4 separate regions of the Homo sapiens genome follow, and all the other regions are linked to region 4. Evidence: promoter capture Hi-C in human tissues and cell types (Jung and others, 2019). All regions are on one chromosome and are shown on one strand. Each heading gives the region's core, a stretch centred on a gene start or on the middle of the fragment in contact. The rest is flanking DNA. Distances are from core to core; before and after follow the strand shown.

What was found. Contacts are between HindIII fragments. The study calls those that stand out against the background at their distance.
Region 1: a fragment that was not itself captured here is called in contact with the fragment with the promoter of DNTTIP2 in region 4 in 3 of the 25 tissues and cell types used here (IMR-90 fibroblasts, aorta and hippocampus).
Region 2: a fragment that was not itself captured here is called in contact with the fragment with the promoter of DNTTIP2 in region 4 in 1 of the 25 tissues and cell types used here (mesendoderm cells).
Region 3: a fragment that was not itself captured here is called in contact with the fragment with the promoter of DNTTIP2 in region 4 in 1 of the 25 tissues and cell types used here (H1 embryonic stem cells).

What each region holds. Positions count from the first base shown.
Region 1 is chr1:93,539,873-93,542,572 of GRCh38, forward strand. It overlaps FNBP1L (formin binding protein 1 like), which reads left to right. Exons shown (of 17, transcript NM_001164473.3): 11 at 1,170-1,184. Among named protein-coding and RNA genes, the nearest start is that of TRC-GCA7-1, 25 kb to the left of the region's middle. The HindIII fragment of the contact is 5,357 bases long and covers 1-2,700 here.
Region 2 is chr1:93,573,402-93,576,101 of GRCh38, forward strand. BCAR3 (BCAR3 adaptor protein, NSP family member) reads right to left here. Exons shown (of 12, transcript NM_003567.4): 8 at 2,613-2,700. Among named protein-coding and RNA genes, the nearest start is that of BCAR3-AS1, 17 kb to the right of the region's middle. RefSeq lists an enhancer at 1-78. The HindIII fragment of the contact is 6,394 bases long and covers 1-2,700 here.
Region 3 is chr1:93,468,043-93,470,742 of GRCh38, forward strand. All of the region lies in intron 1 of FNBP1L (formin binding protein 1 like), which reads left to right. Among named protein-coding and RNA genes, the nearest start is that of FNBP1L, 21 kb to the left of the region's middle. The HindIII fragment of the contact is 6,694 bases long and covers 1-2,700 here.
Region 4 is chr1:93,877,951-93,880,650 of GRCh38, forward strand. It overlaps DNTTIP2 (deoxynucleotidyltransferase terminal interacting protein 2), which reads right to left and starts at 1,256. Exons shown (of 7, transcript NM_014597.5): 1 at 1,127-1,256. The coding sequence starts at 1,198. RefSeq lists enhancers at 982-1,411, 1,263-2,078. The HindIII fragment of the contact is 10,129 bases long and covers 1-2,700 here.

The sequences.
Region 1 (2,700 bases), core at 14-2,513, 340 kb before region 4:
TTTTTGTCAGATTATTTATTAAAATTCATTCATATTTTTAATGTGAATTTTTTATCTGACATCTCCCCAACACCTTCTCTTAAAACATGTGATTTAGAAAATAGGGAAAAGTAAAAATTTTACAGGCAGCTCACTAATTGAGATGAATGTGAAGATTAACTTTATAAAGCTCCGTTGCATTTTCTGGGTCACCGTGTGTGTGTATGTGTGTGGGTGTGTAGTTGGGATGCTAGATAGATGCCATGCCAGTTGCAGAATCCTATTGACCCACAGAATGTGGGAGATATATCCAAATCCATATACATATCTATATCTGTACACACACACATATATATACATATATAAAGTATTGTTGTACAAGAGCACTATGGTTGGTCTCTTCAGAATCTGTGTCATTTCATATTTTCAGAAAGAATACATTTTAATCAATTTTCTAAAAATTGAAGTTATGTTTTTAGTGTTGTTCAAGCATATGGATTTTAAAATAAAACCTGAAAAATGGAAGCTATATTTTTAAAGCAAAATTCAACCTATATACTTGTATATATTAGGAAATGTGTACGGGAAACTTGAATCTGGATAACTCACTATTTTGAAAATAATGTGTTTTAAATGTACATTTTAAAAGATTTTAAAATGAAAGTAAAAATGTTACCCTCATCTAACCATGGTATATTTAAATTCAAACAGTACTTTGAAGTATAAAAATGTAGGTAATAGTGTTTTCTTTAACACACTGGAAAGAACATTCTATTTTTTAATATTTCACATAAGATTTCTTTTTAAATGTTTAATCTTAGAGTTCATATTCAACTTTTCAAATATTAGTAATTTGAGAATAAAGAGCTATAGAAGTGAAATCCACTTACATAAAATTCACTTTAAAAGAAAATGCATGATTACAGGTAGAATGTTTATTTTTAAGTTTTAGTTAAACATAGAAAATATCTGCCCATTATCATCAATGTATGCTTTTTTTTTTTTTTTTTGCAAGTAATTTACTTTCCCAAAATGTGCTTAAAATGGTTTTTCTGGCATAATTGTTTGGATTGTGAAATGTACGTGATTTATTTTAGTATTGTGAAAAAGAATAGGCTATTGCATCTTCTGTATTATGGTTTCCTGTGAATAATTTACCATTTCTTTCTGTTTTCCATTGAACTATTCAGTGGTCGGTGAAGATGGTAAGCCTTATGTGCTGATCTATATACTGTGCCAACATTAAGTAATCTCAAAACATTGTTTTGTTTAATTCAAAACAAGTGGTAAATTACATCCCACGTTTTCACCTTGTGTGTTTTTTCTTTTTATAGTTTCATAGTCCAGCATATGCCAGTACTCTTGATGTCATAAGATTAGAAAATGTGGTTAATTGTCATCAACCCATTAAGTTCTTAAATGTCATTGAATGGAGTCCTTGTCATGTTACAGAGGAGCGTAAAATTGTGGTTAAACATTTTTTAAAGATTACATGGTAGAGCCACAGTTTGTTATGCAGAAGGAAAATTTAGCAAATATTATTTTGCTTAATAGCCTTTAAAAAATCGTATAAATTTGATTTGTAGTTTTATCCCCAGAGTCATTAGATTTTTCCAAAAAAAGAAAGAAAAATTTCAAACTAGTATCATTATGGAGTTAGTCCTTGGTTCTTCTGTGCTATTGAAGGAGAATAGAAACACAAATGATCTAAATATCCTGTGTGTGTTTGTGTGGGGGGTGGGGCGGGGCGGGGAAGGTGTGTGTGTGTTTGGGATGTTCCTTGGTATGTTTATTTCAAACAAATTAATGGATCTACATTAGGAACTAACCCCAAAATTATTGTATAGGAAGCTACTGGAAAATAGACCACTCTTTTTTACATTGTTGGAATCAGCCTTTTATAAATTCCTTTGTAGTAAGAGAGGTTGTTAAATGCCCCAGAGGTCTTCTGAACATCCATAGGAAATAAAGTTAAGTTTAATTCTCATATTCTATGTAAGAATAGAGTTCCAATGTCAAATGGGATATTAGAAATGTAAGTGCCTCAGTGTTTACTGTTCATAAATTTGAGAACAGGGTTTGATAAGGGATAAGTGGAATTCTGGCAGATTTACTTGTAGGTTATTGTGAGTTTATCATAATTTTGACAACAAAAAAAAACTCCACAGTATGTTGAAATGCATTTCTTCATTTTATTCAATAATTTTTCAAGATTTTTAGAAATATTTTTAAAAATCTAAATTAAGAAGTTTATTTTTGGCATATATATATACTAGTTTTCAAAACTTGTACTCCTTTTCTGTAATCCCAGCTATTTGGGAGGCTAAGGCGGGAGGATTGGTTGAGCCCAGGAGTTCGAGGCTATAGTGAGCCATGAGAGCTATGATCACTCAACTGCATTCCATTGTGGGCAACAGAATGAGACCCTATCTCTACAAAAAACCTTCAACTCCAAAGTAGATTAAATATGACAAATTTATGTTGCAAATTAACCAGTAAATCTAAAGGAACTCAACAAAGGAAATTTCACCATTGATTTATTTAGGCCAGATTGGGTTGATTGATATCCTTGTTTCTGGTGATTGGTAAATGAAAAAAAAAAAAAAAAAAAAAAAGCAACACTTAGGATGCCCTACTTTTTTCTAGCAAGCTTGTTGAATATCCATAATCTACAGGCCACTGGGGAAAGAGGCTAGGGATTCTGTTATTAATTAAATGTTA
Region 2 (2,700 bases), core at 109-2,608, 300 kb before region 4:
TAATAATAATAATTAAAGTGCCTGGCACTGGCGGGCACCTAATAAATAGCAGTTGTTACTAGAGTTGTCTCTGTACATGTCTCTCCCTGTGTATCTTGGTCCATTTTCCCTCTTTGTCTCCATCTCTTTCCTCTTTTCTCCATTTATCTCCTTCTCCTGATTTGTCTTTCTCAATTAATGAATCCAAACATAGACCTAAAATATATTTTTATTATTATTATTATTATTATTATTTTTTTTTTTTTGAGACAGGGTTTTGCTCTGTTGCCCAGGCTGGAGTGCAGTGGTGTGATCATGGCTCACTGCAGCCTTGACCTCCCTGGCTCAAAGGATCCTCCTGCCTCAGCCTCCCACGTAGCTGGGACCACAGGCATATGCCACCATGCCCAGCTAATTTTCGTGTTTTTTTGTAGAAACAGGGTTTTGCCATGTTGCCCAGCTGGTCTCGAATTCCTGGGCTCAAGTGATCCACCTGCCTTGGCCTCCCAAAGTGCTGGGATTACAGGCATGAGCCACCACGCCCAGCTGTTATCTGATACATTTTTGGAAGAGTTTTCTTATCCATTTGCAAAATGTTAACATTGACAGAACATTTTAGATGTTGCTTTTAACTATAAACTCACTTCCCATGCTGCATTCAATTGATTCTTTATTCAGTGTTTTCTCTCCCTGTGTTTTAATGGCCCTCTAGTGTTGTATAAATGGTTAACTGAATGGTTATATCCATTCACTCAACCAATATTTGCCTGAAACCTCCTGGATACACCGACTATGGGAAAAACAACTCAGGCTGGCAAATCTGCAGCAAAAGCTCCTGTGGTTGGCAAGAGGAGGCACTCAGATGTCACATGAAGGACACTTCCAGAGCAGTATGCCTGGAATGGGTGAGGTGGTAAATTAAAAATAAAGGGTGGTTTTGTATTTGATTCTCAAATGCAAGAAGGTGATATCATGTGACACATCAGGACCTCTATAACCTTGGCCTTTATTTAATAAACACATTGTAATTAATAAAACTACTCCCCAGGCTCTAAAAAGAAGATCCCACAGGTCACAAGAAACAAGCTAAGGAGCAAGACCCCAGCCAAGAGGCAGTCAGGAGAAAAGACAAATGAAGTGGAAAGTCAGAAAACAGCCAAGAGAGAAGCCCCAAACCTGTCACCCTCAGCCTGTCCCAGCACACTGAATGATACTAAGAAAATAGGGCTCAGATTCATGAGGCCTGGAACCTGCGGCCTTTCAGGCTGAAATGTCTCATGGGAGAAATGGCAAAGTGTGGTGGCACAGCTCACCTCTGCTGATAGAACGAAGCTAGTGGAGCCGGGAGGTCAGGCCCCTAGGGCAGGAGGGAAAAAGGGGACACCCGGAGAGAGGCTGGAACCTAGAAAAGTCTCATCAGGAAGAGCAGGGAAATTCAGAAGCGGGACCTAGAATTCCCCAGAGGCTTAAGCAATGGGTATTCCCGAACAAAATCCGCATGGCCCACTTCTTCACCTCCATCCTCCCACATGGCTGCAATTCAGCATTCTGGGTATTTTCTATGGGATGTATCCACGGCTGCGAGGCCAAAACAGCAGCAGCATAGGAGTCATTTTATCTGCTGTACAGCCGAGGAAACTCTAAAGCAGCGACATCCATCCCCCGAGAAGTGGCTTTTTACCGTGAAAACAGCAAATTCTAATTATAAAAAGTCATCCTTCAATCACATCAGTCACATTTCAGGTGCCCGAGAGTGACATGTGGCTGGTGGCTACTGTAATAGCCAGTGCAGAATGCGTCTGTTACCACAGAAAGCTTTCCTGGACAGCACTGTGACCTGGAACTTCATGGAAAGCCATGGGCAGTCAGTAATGGCAACTAGGACATGGGCTGGACAGACAGAAAACTTAACAAGATAGTCTTGCCCAAATCAACTTTTAAAAAATGTGTCAAAAAGGCTGGCTTTGTGGTAATATGGATATCTAGTCTAGAGCTTCTTTTCTTAAAAACATACCTCATTGTTGGTGTCTTTCTAATTCCTAAACATTCCATTTCAATGGATGCCCAGGGCCCTGGCTTTTCATGAGAAGAGGGGAGGGATGCCTCGGAGGCCCCGGACCAGTGCCGTCATCCCCTAACCTCTGACCCTATTTGTCCACCCCTCAAAGAAAACACTGTCTAGACTCTGCTCTTCCCAGCCTTTCCCACAAACTCCTCCTAATTCCTCAAGCAATCTTAACCCCCAAAGAGACAAAGGGGCAGCTTGCTGGGCAGGAGACCCAGGAGACTCCAGGTGCTGGGGCCCCAGCTCTGCCCCAGGCTGCAGGATCTGTGACTCCTGCTCACACAGGCCAATTGAGTCACTGGCTTCAGGCCATCTATTCTCTCCATCCACTCCTCCAGGAGCAGGGACGGGAACACATTCTTTGTTCCTGAGTTGTGCTGTCTTTGTGTGCAACTCCAGGAATTCTCAGGCTCAGGCTTCTGGGAAGAGTCGCTGTAGGCCATGCGCCCTGAAGTACTGTTACCCCAGGGCTAGGCTGGTGCTGCGCCTCTCTTTGTTCTAAAACCTGCTGCTCTGATGCCTGGAAGGAGCTGGGAGGGTCGGAAGTGCAGAGGACGGCACTGCTCACCTTTCAATTATGTCCAGGCGCAGCTGGTGTCCGTGAGGCAAGGTAATGAGTTCCAGGCCTGAGCTCACCCCCATGTTCCTCCTCATCT
Region 3 (2,700 bases), core at 129-2,628, 410 kb before region 4:
TTACTGTGACTTTTCATTACCTCAGAAGGAAAGCTGTTGCCCATTAAGAGTCACTCCCTTCTTCTCCCTCTCCTCCAACCCCAGCCCTAGGAAACCACTAATCTTCCTGTCTCAACAGATTTACCTATTCTGGACATTTCATATAAATGGAATTATAGCATATGTGGTCATTGGTGACTGGCATGTTTCAGTTAGTTTAAATGTTTTCAAGGCTCATGCATACTGTAACATGCATTACTTTGTTCTTTTTTTTTTAACTGAATAATATTCCCTTGTATGCATATACCACATTTTATTCATCCATTCATCTGTTGATTGACTTTTAGGTGTTTTCTATTTTTGGCATGAATAATGCTGCTGTGTGCTGTGAACATTAACGGACAAATTTTTCTTTCTGTGTTTCTTGGAGACAGGGTCTCGCTCTGTCATCCAGGCTGGAGTGCAGTGGCACAGTCTTGGCTCACTGCAGCCTCGACTTCCTGGGTTCAAGCGATCCTCCCACCTCAGCACCCCATGTAGCTGGGACCACAGGCACGTGCCATGACGCCTGGCTAATTTTTATATTTTTGGTAGAGATGGGGTTTTGCCATGTTGCCCAGGCTGGTCTTAAACTCCTGGGCTCAAGCAGTCTGCCTGCCTCGGCCTCTCAAAGTGCTAGGATTACAGGTGTAAGCCACTACACCTGGCCCGATGGACAAGTTTTTGTGTGTATATATTTTTCTTTCTCTTGGGTATATACTTAACAGTAGAATTGTTGAGTCATATGGTAACTCTATTTTTAACCATTTTAGGAACTCCCAGACTATTTTGCATTTTATATTACCACCAGGAATGTGTGAGAGTCCTGATTTCTGTATATCCTTGCCAACGGTTGATATCATCTGAATTTTTGGTTATAGCCATCATAATTAGATATAAAGTAGTATCTTATTGTGGTTTTGATTTACATTTACTTGATGACAAATAATATTGAGCATCTTTTCTTGTGCTTATTGTTCATTTGTATATCTTTCCTAAAGAAATACCTGCTTACCTCAGTTAACTTTTTTTTTTATATTTATACTTTAAGTTCTAGGGTACATGTGCACAACATGCAGGTTTGTTACATAGGTATACATGTGCCATGTTGGTTTGCTGCACCCATCAACTTGTCATTTACATTAGATATTTCTCCTAACATTATTCCTCCCCTAACCCCCCACCCCCCAACAGGCCCCAGTGTGTGATGTTCCCCTCCCTGTGTCCATGTGTTCTCATTGTTCAACTCCTACTTATGAGTGAGAGCATGCAGTGTTTGGTTTTCTGTCCTTGCGATAGTTTGCTGAGAATGATGGTTTCCAGCTTCATCCATGTCTCTGCAAAGGACATGAACTCATCCTTTTTCATGGCTGCATAGTATATTCCATGGTGTATATGTGCCACATTATCTTTATCCAGTCTATTATTGATGGACATTTGGGTTGGTTTGAAGTCTTTGTTATTGTGAATAGTGCCGCAATAAACATACGTGTGCATGTGTCTTTATAGTAGCATGATTTATAATCCTTTGTTACCTTAGTTAACTTTTAAGTATGAATGTTCACCATAAATTTCTGTGGTAGTATGTACTAGTAAACTATAAATAAAAACTAATATTGATGGCAGTGGTACTGTTTAAGAAAAGGAAAAATTGCCAGGCAGGAACTCAGGAGGCTGAGGCGGGAGGATCACTTGAGGCCAGGAGTTTGAGATCAGCCTGGGCAATATAGCAAGATCTTGTCTCTAAGAAAATAAAAATAAAAAAATTAGCCTGACATGGTGGTGCACACTTGTCGTTCCAGCTACTTGGGATCACTTGAGCCTGGGAATTCAAGGTTACAGTGAGCTATGATCATGTCACTGCACCACTGCAGTCTGGGCAACAGAGTGAGACTCTGACTCTTAAAAGAAAAAAAGAAAAGGAAAAATGTAATTGTGGTGTTAAAGTACCATATTTGTCCTTGATATTCCTCCCTGAACTTGCCAGCCACTCTTTTATACTGAGATGTTTGGTTTTGGCATTAATTTAAGAAACTTAAAATCTAAGTGTGAATGTTAGCTATGCTCTCTTTTCTTTCTTTATTTTTTTTTGAGATGGGTCTAGCTCTGTTGCCCAGGCTGGAGTATAGTGATGCTGTCATAGCACAGTAACCTCAAACTCCTGGGCTCAAGTGAGCATCCTATCTTAGCCTCCAGAGTAGCTGGGACTACAGGTGTGTGCCACCAAGCCCAGCTAATTTTTTTGTGTGTGGATACAGGGTCTCTTTATGTTGCCCAAGCTGGTCTTAAACTCCTGGGCTCAAGCAGTCATTCTGCCTTGGCCTCCTAAAGTGCTGGGATTACAGGCATGAGCCATCACACTCAGCCTTGTCTGTTACTTTTTAAAAGAAACTTTTCCACTAATTGGCTCTCCAGTTGGCTTGCTTCTCTTGTCTCTGACTATGGATGGGAGTCTTTGTTGTTGTATAAGTAGAAAGCTTTCTTATGTTGTTAGATGTCAATAGTTTCAGATATGAAAGTCCAGGAAATGGGCCAGGCACGGTGGCTCAGACCTGTAATCCTAGCACTTTGGGAGGCCGAGGCGGGCGAATCACCTGAGGTCAGGAGTTCAAGATTAGCCTGGCCAACATGGTGAAACCCCATCTCTACTAAACATATAAAAATTGGCCAGGCGTCATGGTG
Region 4 (2,700 bases), core at 6-2,505:
AGTAAACAAGATTACCTTTAAAACAAAAAACAAAAAAACCTGCCCAACTCATGATTTTTAAAAAATCAAAATTTGGCCGGGCGCGGTGGCTTACGGCTGTAATCCCAGCACTCTGGGAGGCCGAGGCAGGTGGATCACGAGGTCAGGAGTTCGAGACAGCTTGGCCAACATAGTGAAACCCCATCTCTACTCAAAGTAAAAAAATTAGCGGGGCGTGTTGGTGCGCACCTGTAATCCCAACTACTCAGGAGCCTGAGGCAGAAGAATTGTTGGAATCCGGGAGGCAGAAGTTGCAGTGAGCCGAGGCTGCGCCACTGCACTCTAGCCTGGGCGACAGAGCAAGACTCCGAATCAAAAACAAACAAACAAAAAAATCAAAATTTAAACACTGGAGCCAACCCTGCATTTACTTCACTAGCCTCATCCTTCCTAGATGTAACTTCAGAAGCAGAACGATTAAAATTTTTCTGTTTAAAGTCAAATATAATGGGTAGACCAACATTCTGACCCACCTATAGAAGAGGGGAGAAAGGGAATATTAACTCTGAACACCGATGTGTTTAGGAACACACTGATGGAATCAGTCGCCGCCCTTACCTTTACGTACAGGAAAAAATCGCCGCCGCTCCGTTCCCTGCATCGCTGAGTCAGAATGAGACAGCCGACTAACGCCACTAAGAGTCACCAGGCGACGACACCACAGCCCTCCTCACGCCTTAAGGAGGTGATGCTGGACAGCTGCCAGCCTCCCCACGTGAAAACGAAGCTTTTTTTCCAGCCCCCCTAAATGGGGCTTGTGCATGGTGGCCGAAATTAACCCTCCTTGGTACCGTGTTAACAGTAAGGTTTAAAAGTTCGAACTGTGCTTCTGCATTAAGGAGTTGAACGACCCAAATAAAGTTATCTAACCTCTCTTCCATACTAAAAATTGCCTTAAGAGACAGTGGTGAAGGCTAAACAGTTTCCGTGACAGGCTTAGCACGGGGCCTGGGAGACCCAAGCGCGCGGCAAGCTCGGGTCCTCTCTGTCGGCAGGTCCTCACCCTTAACCGGACCCTTGCGCCGCCCCGCCTGCCTGAGCGCGGCTCTGCGAAGCGGCGAGAAGTAGGGAAGACTGGATTTCCTACCTTTTGCCCGGAACTTTCAGCCGACGCGGCTTGGATGCTGGCCTTAGCCCGTGCAGATCTGGTAACCACCATCTTTCCGGCTCCCTCGCGACCACCACGACTTCCCTCTTCCCTGGCGCTCCGGAAATGCGTCAGAGAACTGCCTCGAGCGCGTTTTCCGCGCAGATCCGAGAATTCGCGAGAATCTCCGCCCAGCCAGTTCAGGCCAGGGCGGTCAGAGACAAAGGGCCTGGGTTTAAGTGTGCATTTCAGAGCTGTAGAAGGCAAGCCAGATTTTTGCTGGGAAAGACCTTCATCGGGGCGGCGAAGCCCGCAGTGACAGAGGGTCTTAGCGTACCCGTTCACATGAATTGTAAAAACGCACTTACATGCCATTCGTTCTTTCATTTGTTTAGTAGAATCGTTTGAACCCGGGAGGCGTTCTTTCATTTCTACGTTCTAAAGAGCTTAATGTAGCCATTGGTATGTCCAAGGGAGAAGTTTGAGATATTTGTGCTTTTTAAAGAAAGACAATATTTACTCGTGTATTGTGACGCTAACTATAAATAAAATTTAAGGACTTGGTTGGGGTAAAAGGGATATAAGGTGCTCGCAGGAACTGGGAGACGAAGTGGAAAGCTGTATAATCTAAACGTGAGATGGTGTTTAGGGATTGGGAATAGCAGAAAAGAAAAAAACGTTAAAGAAATTGTAAAGGAGAAGAATAAGGTTTTGTTGTTGTTGTTGTTGTTGTTATTGTCACAGTGAAAGGAAGAGTATGACCAGAATCAAGAGGTTTCTTTGGTTATCTTTTGAGATAAAAGGTAGAGAACTATGTTTGAGGGGATGGGAAGGGGTTGAAAAAATAAGTAAACGCAAATTATTGTTGGAGGTGAGAAAGGATGAATGAGTGCCTCACCAAACCTAGTCTCTACTTCATGACAGAAAACCAATTTTTTATTTAAAGTCACAGAACACTGTGTCGATGGACACACTGCTTCCCAGCTTAAAATAGCTTATTTTATAGTCTCTCTTGCAGCCAAATGTGGCTATGTGACTACGTTTTAGCCAATTAGGTATAAATTGTGTGCATGTCTTTAGGGACGGCATCTAAAAGAGAGGAGGCCGTCCCTGACTTTTTTTTTTGGAGACGGAGTCTTGCTCTGTCGCCCAGGGTGGAGTGCAATGGCGCAATCTTGGGTCACTGCAACCTCCGCCTCCCGGGTTCAAGCGATTCTCCTGCTTCAGCCTCCTGAGTAGCTGAGATTACAGGCGCCCGCCACCATTCCTGGCTAATTTTTTTTTTGTATTTTTAGTAGAGACGGGGTTTCACCATGTTGGGCAGGCTGGTCTTGAACTCCTGCCTTCAGGTGATTCACCCGCCTCGGCCTCTCAAAGTGCTGGGATTACAGTGCTGGGATTATAGGCCTAAACGACCTCGCCCAGCCCTCCTGATCTTTTAAAGTGCATTTTACTTCCTGGAAAGTTGGGTTCGCTGGTTTTCAGGCGGCAAGTTTGTGCCATAAGGATGAAGGCATGCTTTAGAGATGGCATAGCAGTGAGATGGAAAAATCAACTTGTGGAGCTGCCCTATG